Linked DNA regions of Homo sapiens: all the other regions are linked to region 1. The links are contacts of gene promoters, found by promoter capture Hi-C in blood cells and fetal thymus (Javierre and others, 2016). All regions are on one chromosome and are shown on one strand. The core of a region is centred on a gene start or on the middle of the fragment in contact, and the rest is flanking DNA. Distances in the headings are between cores, read along the strand shown.

Region 1 (4,770 bases), core at 1,449-3,948:
TTAGGGAGAAAAGAGACATATGTACATAAAACAGCTAACAGCATAAATAATACTGTACCAAATGTTCATGCATTTAGAAATAAGGTCTTCAAGAACTTCAAGAACCTGAAGATCAGTGGGGCCTGGAGTGACCAGGGCCATCTGGAGTAAGCCAGATTGGTAGGAGGTGTTGAATTTTGAAAAATAAAAGGAAAAGAAAAGAGAGTCCATGATTAAAGACCAGGAATAAGAAATGGTAAGGACATGGGAGAAGGCTGGCCAAGCTTGGAAAGAAGGACCATATTGGGAGGTAGTGAGAGAAATATTGTTGGATAACTAAGGAGGAACCAGACTATGGAGAACTCAGAATGCCAGTCTGATAGGTTTAGGCCTTATCCTGTGCACAGGAGAGAACCTCCAAAGGTTTCTGAGTAGAGGAAAGGACATCAGGAAATTATAGAAGGAATGGTTAAAGAAGAGCTGTATGAAAAGCATCTTTGGAATTTGACAAATAGATACAGGTGACAAAAGGAAATAAGAGCAGCTTGCTGACAGACAGAATACATTCTACAGTGTCCAAAAAAAAAAACCTAGCAAAATATCTAAAAGAGCCTTCTAATACACTCTTCATAAAGCCAACTCAACTACCTATTGAAAATACAGATATGACCATATCATTTCCCTGCTTAAAAGCTTTCTATATCTTCCTGCTGCCTAGAAGTTGAAGTCCAAAATCCTGAGCTAAAAATGTTACAATCTGGCTAATTTATCTATTTGTACTTCCAACCTCTCTCTGCAGCAGACCCTGCCTTTAGCTAATGAGGTTACAGCTCCAAGACTGCTTCTAACGCTAAATTCTTTTCTTCTTTTCTGGAATACTCTCCTCCTGTCTACCCTGACAAGGCTCTGCCCATTCTTCAGGGAACAACTCAAATACTATGAATATTTATTCTTCTTCAAGGACTTCACCAGGTAGAATAAATTGTTCTGTTTCTATGAGTCTCAGCTTTTCGCTCATTTTTTCAGAATGGTATTTACCACATTTATTATAGTGGTTGTCTGTATGTATCTCCTGCACTAGAACGGGGGGATATGAATATCATTTCCTATTATTTTCTGTCTCTAGCTATCGGCCCAGTAACTAGCACGTAATAAAACATGGATAAATGTTTACTAATGTTACTGAAACGGACTTTTGTTTGGATTAAGAACCCTACAAGAAAGACAGAAAATGTCGCCGGGCGCAGTGGCTCACGCCTGTAATCCCAGCACTTTGGGAGGCCGAGGCGGGCGGATCACCTGAGGTCAGGAGTTCGAGACCAGCCTCAACATGGAGAAACCCCGTCTCTACTAAAAATACAAAATTAGCCAGGCGTGTTGGTGCGTGCCTGTAATCCCAGCTACTCTGGAGGCTGAGGCAGGAGAATTGCTTGAACCTGGGAGGCGGAGGTCGCAGTGAGCCGAGATCGCGTCATTGCACTCCAGCCTGGGCAACAAGAGCGAAACTCTGTCTCAAAAAAAAAAAAAAAAAAAAAAAAAAAAGAATGACAGAAAATGTCATAGAAAGTGCGCAATATGTTACTACAGTCCGTAATTTTACGAATTCCTTTCTCTTTCATCTTCTTAAAGGGTCTAACATGTTAGCATTAGATATCTAGCTATACTTAACCTGAGAAATTTATCAATATTTCATTTTTCCATCTAAGGAGGTGAGGTCCATGATAAGGAACGATTCCATCTAAGGAGGTGAGGTCCATGATAAGGAACGATTCCACCTAAGGAGGGGAGGTCCATGATAAGGAACGATAAGAAGTAGCTAAGAAGCTCCATGCCATTAATCCAGGAATCTTAGCTTTAGCGTTTCTCAACACTTAGTAACCCAACCGGCATTTCCCGCCCTGGATTTTGGAGTAGGAGGTTTCTAACCACTTTTTCTTTACGATACTTTCCAAAAACATGGTTTCTATTTAATGTATGATAATTTCCAAAAACAGGTTGCAAAAGAAGACTCCTTCTTGTTGGTGACTGATATGAATAACTAGATGAAAGCTTACCAAGGACATAAAGTTTGCGCGGTTAGTAATTTTTGACGACTGCCTTACTCCCACCTCCCTTATTTTACAGACATGAGGATTCTAGCTTGAATGATGAAGACATCTGCTCAAGGGCCCACACTGTGGGTCGATATTACACATCTACTTTTAGAACCCTAGTTTCCTGAGTCCCTGACCTACGTTCCTTCCATGAAACTGAAATCCCAAGCTCACGTGGGTGTATACGGGACGCTAAGCCCCGGGTGGCCCCGGTCGTGCTCAGGTTCACATTCCTGATCCGTCCCGCGGGCCAGGATGGGGGAACCGGAGGTCGCATGGGACCAAAACTGTGTAATGCCGATGCGCTCTTGCCGCGGCGCCGGCCTCGAGAGGGCCACAGTGGCCCAACCAGCCTGAGGTCTCTCGAGGCGCGGACGACCGGCGCAAGCCTCCCACCCTCACCAGGGCCGCGAGCTGCGGAGGTGCAGTCTCCGCCCGCGGGTCCCTAACGCGCACGGCGGCGCCCTCTACAGGGTTGAAGATCCCTCGGGAATCTTGGAAACTCACTGCGCGGACAGGTCGAAACGGACATCCCGATCCTCCCAAAGCGCATCCAGCACCGACATGGTGAACAAGGCCCGTGGCAGGATCTCTCCACAGCCGTGCAGGCCTAGCTGCGTCTCTCTGGCTCCAAGGCAACGGGCCGCCTCTGTCACGACGTCTACGGCGGGCGCCGAGACTCAAGCTTCCGCGAGAGTGCGCGCGCGTCGCCCAGCTCTTTCGCGTCGTTAAGCCGATTTGAGATGCGAGGCAGGATTTAGGAGTCTCTGAGAAGCCCAGCTGTGTCCGCCAAGGGGAGCGTGCCTGACCTCTGGGCGACCTTCCTTGCCTCCAAACAGACATCCTTTAGCCATTTTACCCCTCTCCTTATTTCTCTTCACCGTCAAGAGATTCAGGTTATTAGCCGGGCATGGTGGCTTCTGCCTGTAATCCCTGCAGTTTGGGAGGCCGAGGCTGGAGGATCACTTGAGGCCAGGAATTCGAGACTAGCCTGGGCAACATAGCGAAACTTCATCTCTACAAACACAAACAAACAAACAAAACCAACCCAAAATTAGCCAGGGGTGGTGGTGCACGCCTGCAGGCTCAACTACTCGGGAGGCTGAGGCGGGAGGATCTCTTGAACCCAAGAGGTGGAGGCTGCGGGGAGCTATGATCGTGCCTCTGCCCTCCAGCCTAGGTGATAGAGATATAGGATCAACAGGTTCGTATGCCTGCTGTGCAGTAACAAACCCATTACACGAAGACAGCAGAGTTTGCAGCAGGGAAAGAGTTTAATGATTGCAGGGCACCTAGCAAAGAGATGGGAAGAGATCCTCGAATCTATCTTCCCAAGAGTTCTGGGCTGAGGTTTTTAAGAGGATCACAGAGGGCGAGGGGCTGGAAAATTGGGGTCCTTGATTGGTCGGAGTAAGGGAGATGAAATCATCAGGATAGGGAAGCTGCATTCTTTGCTGAATCAGTTTCTCACGGGTTCCTCAGACCAGCTGGCATCAGTGGGATCCTTCAGGCCAGCTGAGGCAGTAGTTTCATTGGTATGCAGGATCTGAAAGACTATCTCAAAGGGAAAACTGAGTATTTCATAATGTTCAAGTTGTTCTCTATAGAGCAATAGAAGGGAACTATAATCTTGTGACAGGGTCTGCATGATTCTAGGACAATAGGCACCAAACAACTCTGAGCAAGCAGGTCAGAGAGGAAGCTGACCTCATGATTAATGCCGAATTGGCTGCAAGCTTGGTTTATTTTTGTCCCCTCCCCCACACTTTCTTCCCTGATTACTTTTATAAATTTTATTGGGATGGTTTTAGAATGAGGAAAAAAGAAATTTAGAGTTAAAGCTTCAAATTCCTTACCTGGGCCTAGCTCAATGTGGCCCTGCCTATGTCTGCAACCTCCAACCACCCTCACTTCTGGCTGCTCTCTTGCCAGACAGGGCTCAGAGACTTTGGAGGGCCCCCTTCCTTTGCCTGGAACACTGTTTCCCCAGACCTCTGCATAGGCCTGCCCTTTGTCACTTAAATCTCTGCTTGGGCTGGGCGCTGTGGCTCAGGCCTGTAATCCCAGCACTTTGGGAGGCCGAGGTGGGCGGATCACCTGAGGTCAGGAGTTCGAGACCAGCCTGGCCAACATGGTGAAACCCCATCTCTACTAAAAACCCCAAATTAGCTGGGCACGGTGGTGGACGCCTGTAATCCCAGCTACTCGGGAGCCTGAGGCAGGAGAATCACTTGAACCCGGGAGGCGGAGGTTGCAGTGAGCCGAGATCACACCATTGCACTCCAGCCTGGGCAACAAGAGCGAAACTCTGGCTCCAAAAAAAAGTCAAATCAAATCAAATCAAATCACATCTCAGCTCACATGTCAACTCCAGCAGTCCCTGATCCTTCTGCCCCACCTGCTGTGAACAACCCGAGGACAGACACCTGATCTATCTAGTTGACTGCTTTGAACAATACCCAGCACAGAGTAGGACCCAGTAAATACTTCTTGAATGAATCAAAGTCCCTTTTCTCAATGCATGACAATTATTTAAATTAGTGGTTCACAAAGACTGATCTGGATCCCTACAGGGGGCCCACAAGGTCAAACTATATTCATAATAATGTGAAGACATCATTTGCCTTTTTAACTCCCATTCACATATAGTGGAGTTTTCCAGAGGCTATATGATTTTGTTGTTGTTGTTGTTGTTGTT
Region 2 (4,770 bases), core at 1,680-4,179, 450 kb before region 1:
GACTTCAGCTATTATTCAAAAGAAAGTAGAAACATTGACTTCTCAGAAATAAAATCAATATTTATTGACTTATTACATTTGTTAAGTATATTTTACATTTAAAACACAGAACAATTTAATCTGATTATAGTATTTGCCTTAAGAAGCTTGATGCCATGATTACTTTTCTAAGTCAAAAATCACAATTTCATCATCAGGAATGTTCTCTTGAGTTCAGCAAGCACTAAAGAACAAAAGTTTTGTAATACAACAATGCCTCACCAGAAAAGTTTACTTCATTGTTGTTGTTGTTGTTTGTAAGGTGCCAATTAGAAAGAAACACAGCAGGTTAGGATCTCTGAGAGTATTTAAAGTTAAGCAGGGCATGATGCCTTACACCTCTAGTCCCAACTACTTGGGAGGCTTAGGCAGGAGGCTCACCTGAACCCAGGAGTTTGAGACCAGCCCAGGCAACAAAGACAGACCTCATTTCCCAAAAAAAGTATTAAACAAAAAAAGTACTTAAAAGTAAAAACATGAAAACTAGATTTAAAGATTAATGAGGCTGGACACGGTGGCTCATGCCTGTAATCCCAGCACTTTGGGCAGCTGAGGTGGGCAGATCACTTGAGGTCAGTAGTTTGAGACAAGCCTGGCCATCATGGTGAAACCCCGTCTCTACTAAAAATACAAAAATTAACCAGGCGTGGTGGCGCACACCTGTAATCCCAGCTACTCGGGTGGCTGAGGCAGGAGAAACACTTGAACCCAGGAGGCGAAGGTTGCAGTGAGCCAAGATCACGCCACTGCACACCAGCCTGGGCAACAGAGTGAGACTCAGTCTCCAAGAAAAAAAAAAAAAAATTAATGAGCTATTGATTTTGAAGAGACCCACTTTATAAGTCTTTTTTGTTTATAAAAGATTTTCTGCTCCTTTGCTAAAACTGATAATTTGTCTTCTTACCTTCTGCATAATTAGGAACCACTATCTTGTGTGTGGAATGTGTACAACTGATGGTTCACAAGATGATTTTAAGTATTAAGTATATAAAGCTTTTCATTTTAATAATTATGTAATTATTTTTAATGTGTATAATGTATATTAGAAAATTGTAACTTGCAAATAAAATTCATGACACCTCACTAATAATCACGCTTAGGAAGAGGCAAGGTTTTTTTTAAGTTAACTCATTTTAAAAAATAGTGAAATACTAAGTATATTTCAGTAGAGAGGCTATTTAGATGTGGCAAAAATCTAAAGGATAAACTGAGATAATAATTTTAGAAACCACCGCCTTAAGAGTATCTCCTTAATAGATTTTTTTCTCTCATTCTCTCTAGCAAAATTCTTAACATTTGAAAACATGGTAAGAAGCTTAAGCTTCTCCCTAACCATCCACTATAATTACAACCTTCTAGCACAAGACACTGTTAACCATTGTTAACCACTGTCCCTAGTTTCATGTAACAAGCTATTCATCTTAAAGTATCAGAAGTATGACTTAAAATTCTGAAGACAGTCCTTCACAAAGATCTTTATTAGTATTTCTAGAATCATTTATCGTCCTTTTTTTTTTTTTTTTTTTTTTTAAGACAGATTCTCGCTCTGTCACCCAGGCTGGAGTACAGTGGCGCGATCTCGGCTCACTGCAAGCTCCGCCTCCCAGGTTCACGCCATTCTCCTGCCTCAGCCTCCTGAGTTGCTGGGACTACAGGTGCCCGCCACCAAGCCCGGCTAATTTTTTGTATTTTTAGTAGAGACAGGGTTTCACCATGTTAGCCAGGATGGTCTCAATCTCCTGACCTCGTGATCCACCCACCTTGGCCTCCCAAAGTGCTGGGATTACAGGCGTGAGCCACTGCGCCCGGCCTTGATCGTCCTTCTCTTTAAAGTCTATTATTTTGCATAATTAACATGCCAAAGCTTTTATCAGAATTGCACAACCTTAGCAATGGAAGAAAACTTCAGTGATTAATTAGTCCAGTGGGCTTCAAACAGTGTTCCATGGAGCTGAATTACCACAGATGTATAACAGGGGCCACTTTAGGAGCAAGTAGATAGCAGGACAGAGAAGAAGCTAGGTTCACTACCCACACCCACTTTAACAGGAGTAAGCCAGCTTTTGTTGGTTTTATATTAATATGACAAATTCACTTAAGGCTTAGTCCCCGAAACCAGAGGCTTGTTTCAACCACTTTTAAAAGTTTAAAAACTTATTTTACAGATAAGAAGCCAAATCCAAAGATAAAAAAACTGGCTAGGCATGGCGGTTCACACCTGCAATCCCAGCACTTTAGGAGGCTGAGGCAGGAGGATTGCTTAAGCCCAACAGTCGAGACCAGCCTGGGCAACACAGCAAGGCCCTGTCTCTACAAAACACATGAAAATTAGCCAGCATGGTGGTGGGTGTCTATGGTCCCAGCTACTGGGGAAGCTGAGGTGGCAGGACCACTTGAGCCCAGTAGGTCAAGGGTGCAGTGAGCTATGATGGCGCCACTGCACTCCAGCCTGAGCGACAAAGTGAGGCTCTGTCTCCAAAAAAATAACAAAAAAAAAAACAACTAATTTCCTAAACCACACAACTAGCAAATATAATTCATATGGTATTTAAATATGACACTCAATTTCCTTGCTCTAATCTCCGAATGCCCAGTATTCCATCTCAGCATTGTTCAGAACAGTCATCTAAACAGCTTGTTTTAAAAAGCAGATTCCCAGATTTCACCCACAGAGATTCTGATGATAGCAGATAGGAGGTGAGACACAGGGGCCTGCATTCTTAATGAGGAGCGCAAGTGAGTCTGACAGAGATGTAATCGTCACATCACACTTTTATAAGCACTGCACTACACCACAGCACCACTCCACTCCCAAATTCATCTAATTTTACACACAAAATATCCTCTACACTAAAAAAATACTGTGCTTTTCTTTTAATGGAATACTTTCCAACCAGAGACTGGATTTTCTTGCTCCTTGTGAACTCCCTGAAAAATCCCAAATAAGGCTTTTCTGTTCTGCTTTGCCAAACACACACAGTACAGTGTATATTATTTACAACTTCAAAATGGGCATTGGTTTTTCATTTAGACAACGTGTTGAGGGAGTCAAGAAGCACGTAACTGCTACTTCCTTCAAAATTTTCACTTAGAGAAGTGAAAATATGAAAGTCAAACAAAAAAAGACTGTGTAAATCAAAACCTCACTTACTTCTGGCTGCTGTCAAGGATGTCAACTATGAATCTATGCGGGAGAAACCTTCCAAAACCAATCATCCACTTAAGGAAAACGTTCTGTGCATTTAACATAGGTTCAAAATGTAAGTAAGTGCTATCAGCATTCTATGTGGACTTTTTTTTTTTGAGATGGAGTTTCACTCTTGTTGCCTAGGCTGGAGTGCAGTGGCCACGATAGGGTCTCACTATAACCTCCACCTCCTGGGTTCAAGTGATTCTCCTGCCTCAGCCTCCCGAGTAGCTGGGATTACAGGCACCTGCCACCATGCCTGACTAATTTTTTTGCATTTTTAATAGAGACGGGTTTCATCATGTTGGCCAGGATGGTCTCGAACTCCTGACCTCAGGTGATCCAGCCACCTCGGCCTCCCAAAGTGCTGGGATTACAGGCATAAGCCACCACACCCGGCCTATACAGACTTTAATTTGAACTATTTCAAGTTAAAATTTGGGTCGTGAGGATTCTTTTGCTGTTTCAAAATCAAATTTGGAGAGTAAATACATTCAAAATATTTTTTAATATACATTTTGTTTTATAGTTTCTGGTTCATTTATGGTTATGATCACTTATAAAAATGAATTAGAGTTCAAATATAAATTTCCTTTATAGTTTAGAGTCATCTAAGAAGTCTTAGTGTAACATAAAGCTATAGATTTCTAAGTAATTGAAAGCAGTATCACTGTTTACCAATAAAGACATACATTTATAACAAAATGGAGAAAAGAAAACCAAAGCTTGAACGAATAAAAGGTAAACATTTTCTTTTAATACACAGAAGAATTCACCATTCAAGAACTGATATTTGAAAGAGTCCATTTATGTATATAAACATACCTTTGGGAGTATACATGCCTTGTTGCATAGAACCTCCAGGTTCAAAAACAGGAGCCTTAAAATCAGCTACAGCTGATAAAACTGATTCAAAGCTGTAACTGCCTGGAATAATGCCACTTTTGGGATTAGGATTTTCTGGAATATGATATATATGTCAAGAAAAAAATATTAGTAACAAAAAGCCAGATTTATAGCCTTTCCAAGGTACTCTAGTTTCTCATTTTGCTGAAGTAGACAAATAGTAATTGGTTGTAATATACAAAGCTGGCCACAAGAGGGCTATATAATACAACAGATCAATAATAACTGTTTTTAATTGTGATTTTTGAAAATATGTTTAATCTAGGAGCCTACTAATAAATTGTATGCTGCAGTAGTTCCCAGGTATATTTTCCCCGAAATAAATTTATCAAATTTCAGAAAACGATAGAAAAACTTTTAAAAATGTGTCTTCATTTTTACCATTTTGTAAATAACTTTTCCTTAAAAAACAGAAAGAACTTGTGAAAAATTAGCCAAGATTTTTATGAGCAAAGATTGTTTTTCCAAAAACACAAAATTTCATCCCCAAAGAAAAAAATACTAAGCAAATATAAGCAAAGAGGCAAACCAAAAAGATTCTCTCCTCACATTAAAGCACATAAATCTTTAAAATTGAAAGACACAGAGATCGTTTTTACTCTATAATAGCACTGACACATAGTTCATAATGACTGAAG
Region 3 (4,770 bases), core at 1,364-3,863, 430 kb before region 1:
CCATGTTGTGCAATAGATTTCAAAGTTATTCCTCCTCCCTAGCTAAAACTTTGTACCCTTTAGTCAAAATCTCCCCATTTCCCACTCCCTCAGCCCCAGCTTCTGGAAACCAACATTCTACTCTCTACTTCTATAAGCTCAACTTTTTCAGATTCTACATATAAGTGAGATCAATTTACCATAGCCTCTTAATTGGTCTATTTACTCCTGGTCTTGCTGCTTCCCACCCACGCTACTCCTGCTCAAATCCAGTCTTCTCCAGGAACAGAATGATCTTTTAAGTGTAAATCTGATCACATTAAACCCTTGCTTAAAAATCTTCAGTGGCTTCTCCTTAAAACTGAATCCAAGAGTACTTAACATGATCTGCGAATACCTGCAATAATAATCTGATCTCTGCCTATCTCTCCAACTCCAACTTGTTTACTCTGTGGTTCCAGCCACAAATTCCTTAAAAGGACCAATCAAGGCCGGGCGTGGTGGCTCACGCCTGTAATCCCAGCACTTTGGGAGGCCGAGGCAGGCGGATCACGAGGTCAGGAGATTGAGACCATCCTGGCTACAGTGAAACCCCGTTTCTACTAAAAAAAATACAAAAAATTGGCCGGGCTTGGTGGCGGGCACCTGTAGTCCCACCTACTCGGGAGGCTGAGGCAGGAGAATGGCGTGAACCCGGGAGGCAGAGCTTGCAGTGAGCCAAGATTGTGCCACTGCATTCCAGCCTGGGTGACAGAGCAAGACTACGTCTCAAAAAAAAAAAAAAAAAAAAGGACCAATCACTTTCCTACTGAAGGTAGGCTATTCCCTCTTATCTCCCCCACGACAAACACTAACCCCAATTTAATATTCACAGAGCTGGGTCCTTCATATTCTCTCTTCATAAACGCATTCTCTGATACTCAAATCTTCAGTCCTCATACTCATTACTCTCCCTCATAACAACCTGTTATTTTCCCAAAGAGCACTTACAAAAGCTTCTGAAGTAAATCGATGTGTTTACTTACTTAAGATTTATCTCCCCTATGAGAGCAAGAACCATATCTATTTGGTTCAGTACCAAAAACTTAAGCATCTAAACAATGTCTGGCATATATTTTTTGAATAAATGAACAAACAAACCTCATATTATATGACAGTTTCTTGATAAATGCTACAGTGGAAATTAAACAAGGTACACTATGAAAACAAACCTGACTGGAGGAATAAATGAGTAGATTATATATCTGAGTCTTGAGAATTTTTTAAGAAAACTTTAAAATTTCAAAGAGTTAACATTAATTGTTCTTCATTTTGGTTAGAATCACTACACAGGTCCCACTGCATATCAAATGAATCAAAACCTCTGACACTGGGGCTTATGCATACATATTTTTTAAGCTTCCAAGATAACTCTCATGCAAGAAAAACTCTGAGCCAACAAAAGAGAATGAAAGACCATATGCCAAAGAAAGAGACCAGCTTGAACAAAAGCACAGGAATCAAGAAAGGACACTGCATGTTGGGGAATAATAATCAATCCAATAAAGGCATGGAGGGAGAGGGGGTATAAGAAGATGAATTATAGGCTGAGGTGGGCAGATCACCTGAGGTCAGGAGTTTGAGACAAGTATGTGCAACATGGTGAAACCTTGTCTTTACTAAAAATACAAAAATGAGCCAGGCATGGTGGTGCACACTTGTAATCCCAGCTACTTGGGAGGTGGAGGCAGAAGAATCGCTTGAACCCAGGAGGCAGAGGTTGCAGTGAGCTGAGTTCGCACTCCAGCCTGGGTGACAGTGAGTGAGACTCCATCTCAAAAAATAAAAAAAAATTTAAAAATTAAAAAAAAAGATAACGAATTATGAGAGACAAGTTGAGGGCAACTTGTGGAGAATTTTAAATGTCTCTATAGGAAAAACAGATGTTATCCTGTAGATTGATGAGAACTTGAATGATTTTTAAGTAAAGGAGAGGGAGATATATAGAGCTTAGAAAAGTAACTTTGGTATTGAGACAGATTACAGTAGAAAGGGTCTAGAAACACGAAAACCAGTTAAGAAATTACCTTAATAATCCATATTTTTAAAATACAGAGAAATAAAGGAAAAAAGCAGGAGAGGAATATTTCTAGAACGAAAGATTCTTAGTATCTGCTTACAGGTTAAACACAGCTAGCACAGCAAGGGAAGAAAGTTTCCAGAATGGACAATTACATAATTTAAGATACCATTAAATGACAAAAAGGGCACAAAAGGAAATATCATATGGACAGATAGTTTTTAAAAGTTAATTCAGAACCTGAGAAAATTCATGTACCTACAAGGGGATCTACATGAATAATCAGACCTGTTAGAAATTTGAACCGGGACAACATGGTGAAACCCTGTCTCTACAAAAAATACAAAAATTAGCCAGGTGTGCCGGTGCACACCTGTAATCCCAGCTACTCGGGAGGCTCAGGCAGGAGAATTGCTTAAACCTGGGAGATGGAGGTTGCAGTAAGCTGAGATGGTGCCACTGCACTCCAGCCTGGCAACAGAGAGACTCCCTCTAAAAAAAAAAAAAAAAAAAAAAGAAAGAAATTTGAACCTAGTAAGATTGTAACAAGGCTGTAAGTCATCTGCATTTAGAGAATGGCTGAACTAACAAAAGAAAGTATAAATCTACTTAAAGAAACACATACGCTTAAGTGGTAGATGGAAGACAGCTTCACAATAACAAAGAGCAGGCTTTACTGTCCCATTTCTCTTTCACTTTGTTTTTAAAAGGTCAGTAAACAGACTGAGAAATTCAAATATTTTTAAATGAGCTGACCAAGTCACGCAAGTAAAAAAGAAGCAGAGTCAAAACTAGAACCCAGGGCTTCAAAATATGTCTACTACAAAATCTTGTCCAGCATGATTACTGGTATAGAATAACAGGCTGGAACTGCATGGTGTCTATTATCAAAATTTTAGTCAAGTCTTTAGTTTAATAGGGTCAGGGGATTCCATTTGTCTGGACTGCCCAAGGTTTCTGGAGACCCATCAAACCAATGCTTATAATATTATATATTATAATATACATTATATAACAACCACTGGAAGGTTTGTGGAATTTATACTTGTTTTGTCCTTGGAATCTTGAAAGTGTAATATTGAGGACTATCCTACTCCTTGAAAGAAAGAAGCATTAGGCAACTGATAACAAATGAAACAATAAAGATGAATGTGGAGACTAATGAAGTTCCGAAGACTGTTCACAATAGCAACAGGCTGGAAAAATCTGATAATAATGAATTCCAAACTGCCTAAGAATGAAAATTACTGTCTCAGGTCAGTTTTCATAAAGCTGAATTCAATTTGAAACAAAATTAAACACTGCACATTATATACAAATGAACAAACCAATATTTTCACAAGTCTTTTTCTTAAACACAGAAATTAACAAAAATATTTCCAACATACCCTAACTTTACAATGTGATAAAAGCCCCCACATTGGCTGTGCACAGGCCTCAAGTTCAGCAGCAAAGGCAGCATAGTAGGTCTGAGACTCAAATTCCACATGCTCGTTTAGTTCTCGCTTGTTTAAGTTCATACCTGGCAAAAATTAAAGCAGATATAAACCTTGTCAAGTGGAAGCACACATTCATGTTAAATATCAAGTACATTTCCCAGTCCCAAACACATTTATGCACACAAATAGCATTACTGACACAGTACATATAGAAATAAGTAAATTACTAAAAATGAAACAATCTAGTCCTTTCAGAATTTTTTACAAACTAGGTTTTCTTAGAAACATTTTATGAATTATCTCATGTAATAAACTGAATATCTTTTGATAAGAAAGTCAAAAAAATTTTAATTGATGTTAGTTGAAAGCTTTACGTGTTACGAATCTTTCTCAGACAATAGATTTCACATTTCTAGATTAATGGTTACAAATGCTTCAAAGCCAGGCACAGTGGCTAATCCCTGTAATCCCAGCACTTTGGGAGGCTGAAGCAAATGGATTGGTTGAGCCCAGGAGTACTAGACCAGCCTGGGCAACATAGTGAGACCCTGTCTCTACTAAAAATAAAAAAATTAAGTTAAATTTGTTTAAATGCTTAAAAAGTTATACTCCTGTTTCTTTTTCAATCATTTGACATTTTTCCTAACTCCTTGGTATGTTTTATGAACAATTTATTAAAGTACTTACAAATACCAATTAAAATAATGAGCTATTTCATGTGTAGCGTGAATGATGTGCTATTGTATTTTAATTGATATTTAATAATTTAGCATTAGGAATTTTGTAAACCAAAAAATTAACAAAGGGATAAAATTCATACCTTGAAAGAAAGATACAAAGTTCATCCATGTAACTAACAAACCGTGATCCTCCAAAAATCTCTTGGCCACACTTTGATGAGAAAGAATATTAATAAAATCACTAACAAGAGGCCAGTAAGTGTTATTCTTCAGTAATGCTTCTCCACAGTTCACTACCACATGTAAACTATTTTCTTCATCTAAAAAAAGACACACACAACCCAAAAATTTCATAAGATTTTTTTAAAAAGCTTAACCAATAATACAGAATATATATACTTTAGAATCAGATATACCTAAATTCAAACCCCAGCCTTCCATTTAATACCTATATGGCTTTAGGCACAATATTTACACTCTCTGAATCAATTTCTTCATTTATAAAGTAGAAAATAAAAACATCCATCTTAAAAGAATTACATGAAGCATTAACAAAAGTACTTAGTATATCATTATAGTAATTATTACCATATGTCCAATATATGACATGATA
Region 4 (4,770 bases), core at 700-3,199, 390 kb before region 1:
CATCCATAAAACAAGAAGTTCTCTTGCCAGGCGCAGTGGCTCACGCCTGTAATCCCAGCACTTCGGAAGGCCAAGGCGGGCGGATCATGAGGTCAGGAGATCGAGACCATCCTGGCTAACACAGTGAAACCCCGCCTCTACTAAAAATACAAAAAATTAGCTGGGCGTAGTGGCGGGCGCCTGTAGTCCCAGCTACTCGGGAGGCTGAGGCAGAATGGCGTGAACCCAGGAGGCGGAGCTTGCAGTGAGCCGAGATTGCGCCACTGCACTCCAGCCTGGGCGACAGAGCTAGACTCCGTCTCAAAAAAAAAAAAAAAAAGAAGTTCTCTTAATAACTTCCAGCTTTAGCATTCTATGAAAATTCTACAATTTACCTTTAAGTTCTAAAAGACTCAATTTCTTATCATTATAGTAAGATATGAAAACTATAAATTTCTTCTAACATTTTACTCACCAGAAGTCAGATCTTTGTAGTTTTGTTGGTTTGTCAAAACCTGAGTAAGAACAGACCGCATTGCTCCTCCCATTTTAGTCAGGTCTTCTAAAAAGGAAATTTGAGGTTCCAAAAGCTGAAGGACTTTGTTAAGGTCCTTTTCTGATGGTCCATCAGCTGCTAAAAGAAAAAAAGAAAAAAAATCAAATAAGGGTAATTTTGTTTAAAATATCTTACTAAAAATAACAGTATTTATTCTTTTAAAATTATAATGGCTTAAATTATAGTATTTTATAATCAAAAAAGTCAATACAAGAACTCTGTTTAGAAATTGGTATCTGCCCAGCACCTAGCCAAGCAAGGGTAGACTTGCTCAGGAATTCAGTCCTTTGGAAAACAGTAGATGGAAAAACACAGATGACCTCCTAAGATATGAAGCACTTAATTTGTGTAAGAAGCATTTAAATACAAAAAATTAACCAAGTGTGGTGGTGCGCGCCTGTAGTCCCAGCTACTCAGGAGTCTGAGGCAGGAGGATGGCTTAAGCCTGGAGGTGAAGGTGGCAGTGAACTGAGATCATGCCACTGTACTCCAGCCTGGGCAACAGAGTGACACCCCATCTCAAAAACAACAAAAAGAAGCAGCAGCATTTGATCTGTGGGCCCTATACTTCCACATATATAAATGTCATCATAAGATCATTTCAAAAAAAGATAGTATTTAAGAAAAAGTTTAGATCACATCCTAGAATAAAACAAGATATAATTCAAATACATTGAGAGTAGTATAAGAGTATTATGTCAAATTTAAACCTGTATAACAAATAACCTATCCCCTATAATATTCCAAAAATACAGATACATGTTAGCTGAAGGTCAAAGCAACTAAAGTGAAAGATAACTTTTCATAAATATGAATAATTGTATTAAAAACTAAAAAAAAAACAGGCAAATAGAGATGGAGAGAAAGAAAAGCTTGGACAACAACTGAAAAAGAATATTAAAGACGAAAAATATAGAGAGGTTTTACAGAAGCCGAGGTCTAAAAGGAAGGAAATGAATAAAGAGATGTATAGCTTAACCATAATTTTTTTAAAACAAAAACAAACAAATGAACAAAACCACACCTATAAAAGAGGTAATGGAGAACCTGTGTGCCCAGGAAAGGGGATGTCCATTTCATTCAACATTTATTCAGAATCTCAAAACCTACTTTCTCAGTGTAAAGCTAATGTTATATATTATTCAACTTTATATTCTCCCCAGTGACTTATATAGTAATATAGTAGATGTTTAATTAATGTTTGCTCTTGGTTTTCAAGGGCTCTGAAACAAACTCTAACACAGATATAAGGATTATTGGATGAATGAGAAACAGAATTGAAAGAAATTGGGAAACCACAAGATCTCTGAGTTTTCATTACCTTGGATTGGTTATTGCAAGACCTTTCTTTAATTTCTTTAATTTTAAACAGTAATCTCTACACAAAAATGCAGAATTTTGGCTGGGCACAATGGCTCACACCTGTAGTCCCAGCACTTTCAGAGGCCAAGGCGGTGGATCATCTGAGGTCAGGAGTTTGAGACCAGCCTGGCCAACACAGTAAAACTCCATCTCTACTAAAAATACAAAAAATTAGCCGGGCGTGGTGGTGGGCGCCTGTAATTCCAGCTGTTTGGGAGGCTGAGGCAGGAGAATCACTTGAACCCAGGAGGCGGAGGCTGCGGTGAGCTGACATCGCACCACTGCACTCCAGCCTGGGCAATAAGAGCGAAACTCCATCTCAAAAAAAAAAAAGGCAGAATTTTTTTTGCACAGACAGAAATTAATGCTGAACAGAAGTAGTAATATAAGGAAGAAACTTCCATGAACCTACATTCATGCAGATCATCTTTAGATAAAAAATGCTTCCATTTTTTCCTTCGTGTTTTCAGATAACAGATAATTATAAAGCTATGTACTTACGTTGTCTACATTTTATAACTGTTATGTCAACAACAAAAAATATAAGACACTTTCATGTGAAGTACTCTTTCATTAAACTAATGATAAGCTTTAAGGTTCTCATAATAAATAATTTCTATTTCTAAAATAGGACACCTGTAATACAAAACATAAATTCCCAAAAAGGTCTCCTAACTAGTATATAAGAAATAATGCATAAGGCAATTTCAATAACCCAGCTAGTAACTGGTTCCTTCATTCCGAAGAGACAGTAATTTGAAACCAAATCAAAATAATATTTTTCTTTATATATTCTTTTTTCTGTTCTTTTTTTTGGGGGGCGGTGTGGGGCACAGGGCACACTCTCACTCTGTCACCCAGACTGGAGTGTAGTGATGTAATCATAGCTCACTGCAGCCTTGAACTCCTGAGCTCAAGGGATCCTCCTGCCTCAGCCTCCCAAGTAGCTAGGACTACAGGCACATGCCACCACCACACCCAGCTAACTTTTAAAAATGTTTGTAAAGACAGAGTCTCTATGTTGTCTAGCTGGTCTTGAACTCCTGGCTTCAAGCAATCCTCCTCCCTCAGCCCCTCAAAGTGCTGGGATTACAGGTATGAAACACCATGCCCAGCTTATTTTTCTATATTTTAAGATATATACTCTGTTAAGTAGAAGTACTTAACAAAGGATTGTATATTTTTGCTTAAAATGTACAAATAAGGAAGTATAATGGTTTGCTCACAATAAAGATAACAAGACAGTTTTAGAAATGAGGACATTATATAACATTCCCCTACACTTTAAGGATGGAGATAGAAGATGAAAATGTGTGCCACAGTTTCAAAATGAATATAAAATTATTTATAGTACTAAATAATTTTAAACCTCTAAAAATAATGCAAAATGTAATCTCTTATAGAACAGAAATTCAAGTATCATTAGAAAGGTAAAAAACATCATAAAAAGTTAATAAATTTGATTCATACTACTAATGAATATCTGTAACTGACAATGTCAGACTGAGAACTTTTAATAGATACCTAAATCCAAATATTTACCTAACTGAAGTATGTTAATCAAGATTGTGATTAAATCTTAAAAAGTAAGAAGAACATCTGTAATTTTCTCTTTTAAATATTAACATGATGATTACACACCCATATATTCTACCAGTAATCTGGAAGTCAGCAATTTGACCCTATCATAAGTTATTATATAATATATAGAGAGAATAAAAATATATACAGACTTCTAAAAAAAAGTTGATAAAACATTTTATCTTCTAAAAATCTAAGTTAAATTTAAACATTTCCAGGAGTTCTCAATTCTGCTTTATCATAATATTGCAAATAAAGTCACGTTAACCCCACAAAATGGTTACTTCCTCATCTGCAAAAGCTCAAATAAGTTTGATCAAAAACATTTATGACCCCGGAAGCAGAAAGCACGAAACTACATCTACTGCAACATATAAGGTTATATAATTAATTTTTAGTGTGTTTCTATTCAATCCGTATTTTATAGTCATCTCTTTTTAAATGTTAAACAAAAAAAGATATCTAAAAAAATTCACCTCATAATTAATACTAAAACTTTGTAAATTTACAATTTAAAAAGAGTACTAACAAGAAGTAGATTAAAACATACCTGGTTCATTATAGCCTTCTCTTAAGTACTGAATAAGACAAAATATAAATCTTGGAAGAACAAATTCAGACATCATCAGTAAGTCTTTAGGGACACAGGGAATATTTGAACTTGATTTAATTTGATGCCTTTTGCAAAACCTGTAATATGAAAAAGAAAAAAATTAACAGTAATGTCTAATCAGCTAAAAATATATTATTTCTATTTACAATATTCGTAAATGGAATATAGGCCAATAAATCCTCCTTTATGATTTTTAAGGTACCAGGTTAAAAGAATGTAATTTTAAACCAGTGTTTATACAAAAAATGGCACTCAGGTATATTTTTCCCAAGAAAAGACCCATACTATTAATAGTTAAACTCCAAGTAGAATACAAAAAGAAAATCTCATTACAGGGCACTTTTTTTTAACTGAAATTTATTACTTTCAGGTACCACTTTATGACTTCCACTCTTTTAAACCATTAAGTACAAGTTGATCACTTTAAAAGCATTTACATTTTTCCTATTTCTAACTTATTGCATTAATGAATAGGTAAGTGATACAAAACCTTGAAGTTTATTTTAAAAGTTTATACACTGAAGTGTATACATTCCTTCTAATCTTGTTTATATTCTTTTTTTTTTTTTGAGAGTCTTGGTCTGACGTCCAGGCTGGAGTGCAGTGGCACAATCTCGGCTCATTGCAACCTCTGCCTCCCAGGTTCAAGCGATTCCCCCACCTCAGCCTCCCAAGTAGC
Region 5 (4,770 bases), core at 1,210-3,709, 320 kb before region 1:
ATTCTTACAAACAAAGAAGAAGGGTAAAAAGAGAACACCCTAATAGAAAACAGTTAAAGGATATTTTATTGGCCTCGCACGGTGGCCCAAGCCCATAATCCCAGCACTTTGGGAGGCTGAGGCGGGTCAATTTCTTGAGGCCAGAAGTTCGACAACAGACTGGCCAAAGTGGTGAAACCCTGACTCTACTAAAAATACAAAAATTAGCCACACATGGTGGTGCACGCCTGTAATCCCAACTACTCGGATGGCTGAGGCACAAGACTAGCTTGAACCCGGGAGGTGGAGGTTGCAGTGAGCTGAGATCACCGCCACTGTACTCCAGCCTGAGAGGAGAGCAATACTGTCTCTCTGTCTTAAAAAAAAAAAAGACACTATTTTTCAGGGATCGGGTCTTGCTTTGTTGCCCAGACTGGAATGCAGTGGTGCAACCACAGCTCACTGCAGCCTGAAACTCCCGGGCTCAATTGATCTTCCTCCTCAGCCTTCCAAGTAACTAGGACGACAAGCACATGCCACCATGCCCAGCTAATGATTTTTTTAAAAATTATAAAAAATAGGCCAAGCGCAATAGCTCATGCCTGTAATCCCAGCACTTTGGGTGGCCGAAGCAGGTGGATCACCCGAGGTCAGGAGTTCGAAACCAGCCTGACCAACATGGTGAAACCCCGTCTCCACTAAAAATACAAAAATTAGCCGGGCATGGTGGTGTGCACCTATAATCCTAGCTACTTGGGAAGCTGAGGAACCTGGAAGGTGGAGGTTGTGGTGAGCCAAGATCACGCCACTGCACTCTGCACTCCAGCCTGGGAGACAAGAGTGAGACTCCATCACAAAAAATAAATAAATAAATAATGTACTGTAAACTAAAAAAAAAATCCAACCTCATTTCATTGTTAATCAAAGAAATACAATTTAAAGCAACGAGACAGCATTTTTCACCTAACAAACTGGCTAAGATTAGAAAGAAAACCAAGACTACCTAGTATTGACTTGAACACAGAGAACTAGCCATTCAGGTAGATGTAAACTGACAATTATCAGTGTTTTTTAAATGTGCATAATCCTTGAGCCAGTATGGCTCCTTCTAAGAATTTTCCTTGAAGAAATCAATAAACATGTTTACTAAGATTTATATATAAGAATATTTGTCAAAGAATGATTACAGCTAAAAAAATTAGAAACATCCTTCATATTAAAGAGGAGAATGAAAAGATTATTGATTACAAAACTTTTCTCCACAAAAATGCATCCTATATTTAGCGGGGGAAAGGGAAGGAAATAAAATTGTTAGAAATGTACCACTCTGGTGGGGGATGTTTTAAAAGGTGAAGGCACTATGCTTGTGTGGAGGCAGGGGATATATGGAAAATCTCTGTACCTTCTGCTCAATTTTGCTGTAAACCTAGAACTGTTGTAAAATATAAGGTCCACTAAAAAAATTAGTATGAGCATGAAGCAAAGTGTCAAAAGCTTTTAACCTTGATAACCTCAGAAGAGTAGGATTTGAGAGTTAGCAGGTTGTGGGAGAGATACAACCTTTTCTATATACATCTTAGTATTGTTCTAAGTATTAAACACAGAATGAATAATTTCTAATTTTTCTCCTCATAGTCATAAAGAAATTAATACCAAAAAAAGGAACATGAGACATTTTAAATGCAGAGACGTGCAGCTTAAAAAAAAAAAAAAAGCAGTTCTGAGAATTGCAGAAAAACCCCACACCAAACAATATGATCTGAGGGGTTCTTAGCAAGAACCTAAGTTTAGAGATAATTTCCCATGCAACCATTATCGATATTGTAAAGATTTTAAGGTTTTTTTCTTTTTGAGTTTAATTGAACAAAGAACGATTTGCAAATCAGGCAGCCTCCCCAGCCAGAGTATGCTCACGAAGACTCTCAAGTTTCTTCCCCTCGCCCCCTGAAACAGTGTCTCGCTCTGTCATCCAGGCTGGAGTGCAGTGGTATGATCACAGCCACTGCAGCCTCTACCTTCTGGGCTCCATCAATCCTCCCACCTCAGCTTCCCAAGTAGCTAGGACTACAGGTAAACTGCTAACACACTCAGCTAATTTTTAAAATTTTTTTGTAGAGATGGGGCCTCATCATGTTGCCCAGGCTGGTCTCTAACTCCTGGACTCAAGCCATCCTCCTGCATCAGTACTGCAAAGGTACTACGGATCACTTGAGGTATTACGTTAACATAAACATAATACCTAAATTTGAAAAAATGCTAAGAGGGTTTTGAAAACAGATACTATATTAAAGTTACTGGCTGGGCACAGTGGCTCACACCTGTAATCCCAGCACTTTGGGAGGCTGAGGTGGGCAGATCACCTGAGGTCTGGAGTTCGAGACCAGCCTGGCCAACATGGTGAAACCCTGTCGCTACTAAAAATACAAAAATTAGCCAGGTGTGGTGGCGTGCTCCTGTAGTCCCAGCTATTTGGGAGGCTGAGGCAGGAGAATCATTTGAACCCAGGAGGCAGAGGCTGCAGTGAGCCAATACTGTTGTAGTGAGCCAGGATAGTGCCACTGCACTCCAGCGTGGCCAACAGAGTGAGACTCCATCTCAAAAAAAAAAAAAAAAAAAAAAACTATATTAAAGTTACAATAGCTGAGAACTGACTGGGCAGAAAAAAACTAAGATCATCAAAAATATAGTGTTATTTAACAGGGAAGGTACTTTACCAAGGACTTTTATGTTACTTATGTGTCAGGAATTCTTCTAAGTACTTAACATTATATTCACTAATCCTCCAAACTACCTTATGAGGAGGGAACTACTATTATTCTCATTTTATATGAGACTATGAAGCTAAAATTTTATATGAGACTATGAAACTAAAATTTTAAAAAGATTAAGTAACTCTAGTTTATAGTGTTACCTTTTGAAATGTTTGTACATCTTAAGTTTCACAACCTGGCTCCACCAATATAAAACTGTATGCTATTATATGTTCATCTAAGAATCAAAGGCAAACCAAATGTTGAATATGTCCATGTACTAGAATTAAATGTTCTTTCTGTATTTTCTTTCAAGGAACTTGTTTTTGCAGTTTATAGCACAGGAATCATACCTCAATTTGATGACAGATTTTGGCCTCCAGGGCAGCCATCTTTTCATTATCACCATTTTCAGCCATTGCGGCTATCTGTAAAATTTCCCAAATTAGCATAAAGTTATTTTTTATATAAAACTCAAGAATAGAAAGATAATGTTTACAAAGTATTAATATCCCGTTTTCTTAAAAAATCAAGAATTTCTATTTTCACGGGTTCAGTTTCTTTACTCAGTTCTCAAATATCTCAACAAAGCAACACTTTGGAATAAGTGATGAAAAAATCTAAAAACTATAAAAAACTTGTCTTTCAGTAAATCACTACCCCATCTTCTATAACAAGAAACTGTTTATCTTCACTTAGCTGGTCAAGCAAGCTTTAGGGAAAAAAACTCCAATCACTTACCAACCATTTCCAGTTTTAAACAGATAACTATCTATCTGTATATTACCATGGCTCTCTGTGCATTTGTTTGGTATGGGTTCACCTCTTTTTTTTTTTTTTTTTTTGAGACGGAGTCTCGCTTTTGTTGCCCAGGCTGGAGTGCAATGGTGCGATCTCGGCTCACTGCAACCTCTGCCTCCCAGGTTCCAGCGATTCCGCCTTCGCCTCCTGAGTAGCTGGGATTACAGGCGCCCACCACCACGGCTGCGGCTGACTAATTTTTGTATTTTTAGTAGAGACGGGGTTTCACCATGTTGGTCAGACTGGTCTTGAACTCCTGACCTCTGGCGATCCACCCGCCTCGGCCTCCCAAAGTGCTGGGATTACAGGTGTGAGCCACCGCGCCCGGCCTCATTTCTTTTAAAATGTAGTCACAACTGACTTACCCAAACCTTGTTACCAAGTTAGACATCATAACTTTAAGGTGAAAAATGTTACAGTTCCTTAGATACTCTATGCTAAGGAACATACGAAAACAAAAATGGGAGAATGTGGTCATACTAACACAACATTAAACTGGGGAGTATGCCTACTAATTTACTAATACATTGGATAGCCAGTTTCCTGTTTCGTATTCCTGACATTAGCACTGCAATGAAAAAAGGAAGCTGTGCTATTAGTTTGCTAGAAATTACAAACCAAGTCTTCTACTTACAAAGTACTTGCCTCCAGGACTCTACTAAGCCACCCAGTCATCCCAACTGTACAAAAGTTATGTGAACAAATCATCGAGAATATTGCCATTAGTTGACTCTAGTTATGAACTGATGTAGGTACACTTCCTGGAAGCATCCCCTGACACACTGCAATTGCATTCGATACCATGGATACACATAGGAAGCACTTGCAACGGGGTACTGTGTGATCCACATCCCCCTAGAGAAATTACTCAATTTTATGCATTGTCTTGTCTATCACAATCTACACTCCTAAGTTACTACCGTGATCTAGGGCCCCCTACAAAGCAAACGATGAAATAAAATAACTATTTAGACCCTGCAAAACCTATTTGGCCTAATTTTGGAACTGCGTTTCATCAGATACTTTTCCAGAATGTACGACTGTAAATGAAATATTACCCACGTTTTCCCGTTTCACACTGAAACCTGATGTGAGCGATGAAGGCCCTAACAGACCAAAAGAGTGACGCTGGTGTACATCTGCGGCCCAAAGTTCTTTGGCCTCCAGTCAGTCCCATAGGCTCCACAGAACCCTCCGGCGTTTACCCCGTGCCCACCTCCCCAGAAACTTTACAGAGATG
Region 6 (4,770 bases), core at 1,387-3,886, 290 kb before region 1:
CGGTGAATTAGCCAGGCATGGTAGCAGGCGCCTGTAGTCCCAGCTACTTGGGAGGCTGAGGCAGGAGAATGGCGTGAACCTGGGAGGCGGAGCTTGCAGTGGAGCCGAGATCACGCCACTGTACTCCAGCCTGGGCGAGAGCAAGCCTCCGTCTCAAAAACAAAATAAAAAAATAAAAATAAATAAAAATTAAGTATGAAAGTGAATATTAATGTGAAAATAAATCATAAATTGCTGGAGTCTTGGAGCTTCAGTTCTTCCTTCTAGGATTTATTTAGGCAATTTACTAGAAATGCTTATGTAAAAATGTGTAGTTGTTGCAACCTGGCTTCCACTTGCCACCTAGAACATTCTATGGCCCTCAGCAATTACCAGCCCTCCCTGGGGTATCACAGTAAATCTGACTCTGCATATTAAATATCAATTTGCTTGTTTGTTTATTGTCAGTCTGTATCAATGGAATGTCTTAAGCTTCTTGAGAGCAAAGATTTAACCTTCTATGTTGCTTTATGCCCAGTGCCCACAACAGGAGTAGGCACGGGGGGCATATCATACATGCTTCTTTAATAAATTGTATCTGTCCCCGAAAATCAACTGGGAAAAAATAATCCTTCCTCCTCTCCCATTTTAGCCACTCTGTATTGTCATAGCTCTGTGTTATTGTCTTTTAGTACTATCACTTAAAAAATTAGCTTACTGCTTACTTTTTTTTCTTTTTAAGATAGGGTCTCCTCTGTCACCCAGGCTGGAGTTGTAGTGGCACAATATTGGCTCACTGCAACCTCCACCTCCTGGGTTTAGGCGATCTCATGCCTCAGCCTCCCAAGTAGCTGGGACTACAGGTGTGTGCCACCATGTTTGGATAATTTTTTTGTATTTTTACTAGACATGGGGTTTCACCATGTTGGCCAGGCTGGTCTCGAACTCCTGGCCTCAGGTGATCTGCCTGCCTTGGCCTTCCAAAGTGCTGGGATCACAGGTGTGAGCTACTGCGCCTGGCCTGCTTGTTTACTTGTTATCTGTGTCCCCTACTAGAGTAGGCCATACTAAGAAAAGAGAGTGTCTTGCTCCCATTTTCCCAGAGTTTTTAAAGCAAGGCACAGAGGAGGCTCTCAATAAGTATTTTTTTGAGTAAATGAAAATAAGGCAAATAAAAAACTTTTCACGATGAAACTTGCCATGTACTGCAACTCTCCTTGTACCTCTGTTTTTATTCTATTTATCTGAAAGTTTCATTTAGATACTCAATTATATGCTAATTTAATGAAACATAATTAAGTTTTAAAAAAAGTAAAATTATAATAATCACTTCACTTTACACCTTAGCTAAATAAGTACAAATGCATTTTGATTTGACAGAAAGATTGAGTAATTAATTTGTAACCATCTACTAACAAGATTTGAAAGATACAGGTACTTAATAGTACTTTCAGACACAGGATTTCTGCTCTGAATTTGCACTCACCCATGATTTCTGTGACTTTAGGGAGTATCAAATAGAAAATGCTCCTACGTACCAAGTTTTCTTCCCTGGAGGCAAAATAAAATAAATAAACTGACCAATTTCTTATATATTATTTCTGAAATATGCTATGAAGGTATTAGCAGATATTTATATATTTTTCTTTTTCTTGCACAATTTATAGCATACTATACTCACAATTCTGTACCTTTTGTTTTGTGATTCTGTTTTTTTAATATATCTTGGAGCTTACTAATATTTTTGGCTGCATAGTAGTCCATTGTGCAACAGTGTCTTATTTAAATAATCCTCTCTATGGACATTCAGATTGCTCTCAGTCTTTTGGTATTATAAACAGTGCTACAATGAATAACCTTGTACACATGTAACTTCATACATATGTAAGTATGTCTGTAGGATAAACCCGTAGATGTGTGTTTGGATCTTATAGCAATAAATGACACTCCTCATCCTCACCCAAATTCTAAGCCAATTAGGAAATAAGACAAAAGAGGCAGACAGGTGATTAAAATGTCACTTCATTACTGGTGACAGCTGATGTTGAAGCATGTTGCTTACATTTGCAGATAAGAGAGCTTCCCAATTCTGGATCTCTTTCCATTTAATCATAGGCAATGTTCTTCAAACATAGGTCTCCCCATGCAGGTTTTAGGAAGATGATGGGCTGAATGCGGCCTTCCCAGTTTATTCTTTACAAATTTAACAATTAGAGGAGTCACCCCTCCTTTCTTAGGGAGAAGCAAGTGAGGAGGAGAAGAGAGGCCAGCAGCATTAAACCAGGAGAGCTACTTCAGCCTGGAAGTACACATCAAGAAACATTCCCGCCCTAACAAAATACTCTCATGTTCAAAACGGTCTTCAATTGGTAATTGTAATATATTTTTCTCAGTTGTTCACCAGAAATGTGTCAATTTACACTCCTTCCATGAATATGCACCCAGGCATATAAGAAAAGTTAGCATTAGATAAATGTTTTTCAATTATCCTTGGTCTATTCATGTCTCACTACCCCAGAGGTTTTTCTTGAATTTTCTTACATTATTTTGAAATATAACACAGCAGAATTTTATTTTATTTTTGAGACAGAGTCTCACTCTGTTGCCCAGGCTGTAAGTGGAGTAGTGCGATCTTGGCTCACTGCAACCCCCGCCTCATGGATTCAAGTGATTCTCCTGCCTCAGCCTCCCAAGTAGCTGGGACTACAGGCGTGCACCACCACGCCTGGCTAATTTTTGTATTTTTAGTGGAGATGGGGTTTTGTCATGTAGGACAGGCTGGTCTCGAACTCCTGACCTCAAGTGATCTGCTTGCCTTGGCCTCCCGAAGTGCTGGGATTACAGGTGTGAGCCACCGTGCCCGGCCCAGAATTTTAATTATAGTGGCTTCATAGCATTTTAATGTCTGGCAGAGACTGTCAATTGTCACAGTATCCATTGCTCCCATCTTCCTGTTTGAAACCAGACTCTCTGAGCTTTCACCCAGGCCTATGGCTGTCCATCTTTGTGTGAGTCATTGTAGCACCCATGCATATAATTGTAAGGACTTTGACTTTAGCTCTGAGTGAAATGTGGAGTCATCGCAGGGATGTGAACAGAGGAGTGACATGATCATAATGTCTTATAGACTAACCTGTAACTATCTGCTCATAAGGAAAGCCTGGTAAAGTGCAAGGTGCTTCTCTAATCAAAGAACTGACTGCAAAGTAGCCCCAAGACTGGAAGTAAAGCTGCTCTACAAGTTAGGGACACTAGGCCACTGGAGAACTGGGCGAGTGGCTCTCCTTTCCCTCATCTTAAATTCTTCTAAATGTTTGGGGTTGTTTTGTTGTTGTTGTTGTTTTTGAGACAGGGTATTGCTTTGTCACCCAGGCTGGAGTGCAGTGGTGTGATCTCGGCTCACTGTAGCCTCAACCTCCTAGGCTCAGTTGATCCTCCCACCTCAGCCTCCCAAGTAGCTGGAACTACAGGTACACGCCACCATGCCTGGCTAATTTTTTGTATTGTTTGTACAGACAGGGTTTTCCCCTGTTGTCCAGGCTGGTCTTGAAATCCTGGCCTCAAGCAATCCACGCATTTGGGCCTCCCAAAATGGTGACTAGCCATGAGCCACTGTGCCTGACCTAAATATTTGGTCTTTACAGACAAGAAAGGAAACAGAAACGGGAAGGAGACTGATGGTTTCCGATCCTGATTTTATGAGCCAGGATGCTGTGCAACTTCCACAGATGTTTTGTTATATTTTTGCAGTCGTTTTCTTGTCAAACTTTGAGCTTCCTCATTGAAAAAAAATTTCAAAGTTTCATTTCATCCATTGTAATGGCCAATAACTTCTTTAAAATTTATGGAATAAAAGCACAGAGCTTCACAGAAGGTGGATGTCACTATGGAAAGATGTCCAGTTAGAACTACTTTTAAATATATTACAGCTACGCAAGATGAAAAACTCAAATAGGGAATAGAAAGCTACAAAATACACTTGAAGACTACAGTTGTATCCAGCCAAGACAGTAATGATAATTTCTGCTTTCTTTCATTTCCTTTCTTTCTTTCTTTCTTTTTTTTAGAGAGAAGGTCTTGCTCTGTCACCCACGCTGGAGTGCAGTGGCACAATCATAGCTCACTGCAGCCTACACCTCCTGAGCTCACGTAATCCTCCCACCTCAGCCTCCTGAGTAGCTAGGACTACAGGTGTGCACCATCACACCTGGCTAATGTTTAATTTTTTTTTTTTTTTGAGGTGGAGTCTTGCTCTGTCACCCAGGCTGGAGTGCAGTGGTGCAATCTCAGCTCACTGCAACCTCCGCCTCCAGGGTTCAAGCGATTCTCCTGCCTCAGCCTCCCGAGTAGCTGGGATTACAGGCATGCACCACCACGCCCAGCTAATTTTTGTATTTTTAGTAGAGATGGGGTTTCCTCTGTTGGCCAGGCTGGTCTCAAACTCCTGACCTCAGGTGATCTGCCCGCCTTGGTCTCCCAAAGTGCTGAGATTACAGGTGTGAGCCACTGAGCCCAGTCTACTAAATTTTTTTTTTTTAAGGATGGGATCTCATTATATTGCCCAGCCTGGCGTCAAAATCCTGGCCTCAAGTAATCCTCCTGACTTGGCCTCTCAAAATGCTGAGATTACAGGCATGAGCCATCACACCCAGCCAGTAATGATCATTTCTATTGGTCACAACTTTGGTTTAAATTTTCTAGTAACTTTTTTTATAATCACAAAAAAAAGTATTATGACAAAAAACTTGGAACTCATAAAATTATTAGTTAATTGAACTATAAAAATAAGCC

What was found. The method cuts DNA at HindIII sites, captures the fragments that hold promoters and counts their contacts. A CHiCAGO score of 5 or more calls a contact.
Region 2: a fragment that was not itself captured here is called in contact with the fragment with the promoter of BBS5 in region 1 in 13 of 17 cell types (naive CD8 T cells, total B cells, fetal thymus and 10 more); the score reaches 7.9 in naive CD8 T cells.
Region 3: a contact is called between a fragment that was not itself captured here and the fragment with the promoter of BBS5 in region 1, in 2 of 17 cell types (total B cells and M2 macrophages). The highest score is 5.3, in total B cells.
Region 4: a contact is called between a fragment that was not itself captured here and the fragment with the promoter of BBS5 in region 1, in 2 of 17 cell types (total B cells and M2 macrophages). The highest score is 5.6, in total B cells.
Region 5: a fragment that was not itself captured here is called in contact with the fragment with the promoter of BBS5 in region 1 in 12 of 17 cell types (megakaryocytes, erythroblasts, M0 macrophages and 9 more); the score reaches 9.1 in megakaryocytes.
Region 6: a contact is called between a fragment that was not itself captured here and the fragment with the promoter of BBS5 in region 1, in 7 of 17 cell types (erythroblasts, M2 macrophages, megakaryocytes and 4 more). The highest score is 7.4, in erythroblasts.

Annotation. Positions count from the first base shown.
Region 1 is chr2:169,477,422-169,482,191 of GRCh38, reverse strand. It overlaps BBS5 (Bardet-Biedl syndrome 5), which reads right to left and starts at 2,698. Exons shown (of 12, transcript NM_152384.3): 1 at 2,580-2,698. The coding sequence starts at 2,638. RefSeq lists enhancers at 2,425-2,764, 2,775-2,884. The HindIII fragment of the contact is 729 bases long and covers 2,031-2,759 here.
Region 2 is chr2:169,928,150-169,932,919 of GRCh38, reverse strand. UBR3 (ubiquitin protein ligase E3 component n-recognin 3) reads right to left here. Exons shown (of 39, transcript NM_172070.4): 18 at 4,052-4,193; 19 at 1-8. Among named protein-coding and RNA genes, the nearest start is that of UBR3, 100 kb to the right of the region's middle. The HindIII fragment of the contact is 2,048 bases long and covers 1,906-3,953 here.
Region 3 is chr2:169,904,821-169,909,590 of GRCh38, reverse strand. It overlaps UBR3 (ubiquitin protein ligase E3 component n-recognin 3), which reads right to left. Exons shown (of 39, transcript NM_172070.4): 9 at 4,298-4,477; 10 at 3,427-3,560. Among named protein-coding and RNA genes, the nearest start is that of UBR3, 80 kb to the right of the region's middle. The HindIII fragment of the contact is 2,468 bases long and covers 1,380-3,847 here.
Region 4 is chr2:169,871,634-169,876,403 of GRCh38, reverse strand. UBR3 (ubiquitin protein ligase E3 component n-recognin 3) reads right to left here. Exons shown (of 39, transcript NM_172070.4): 2 at 4,029-4,168; 3 at 455-613. Among named protein-coding and RNA genes, the nearest start is that of UBR3, 47 kb to the right of the region's middle. The HindIII fragment of the contact is 1,079 bases long and covers 1,410-2,488 here.
Region 5 is chr2:169,799,339-169,804,108 of GRCh38, reverse strand. It overlaps SSB (small RNA binding exonuclease protection factor La), which reads right to left. Exons shown (of 12, transcript NM_003142.5): 2 at 3,083-3,157. The coding sequence starts at 3,148. Among named protein-coding and RNA genes, the nearest start is that of SSB, 2.9 kb to the right of the region's middle. The HindIII fragment of the contact is 1,968 bases long and covers 1,476-3,443 here.
Region 6 is chr2:169,770,080-169,774,849 of GRCh38, reverse strand. No RefSeq gene overlaps it. Among named protein-coding and RNA genes, the nearest start is that of SSB, 26 kb to the left of the region's middle. The HindIII fragment of the contact is 4,325 bases long and covers 474-4,770 here.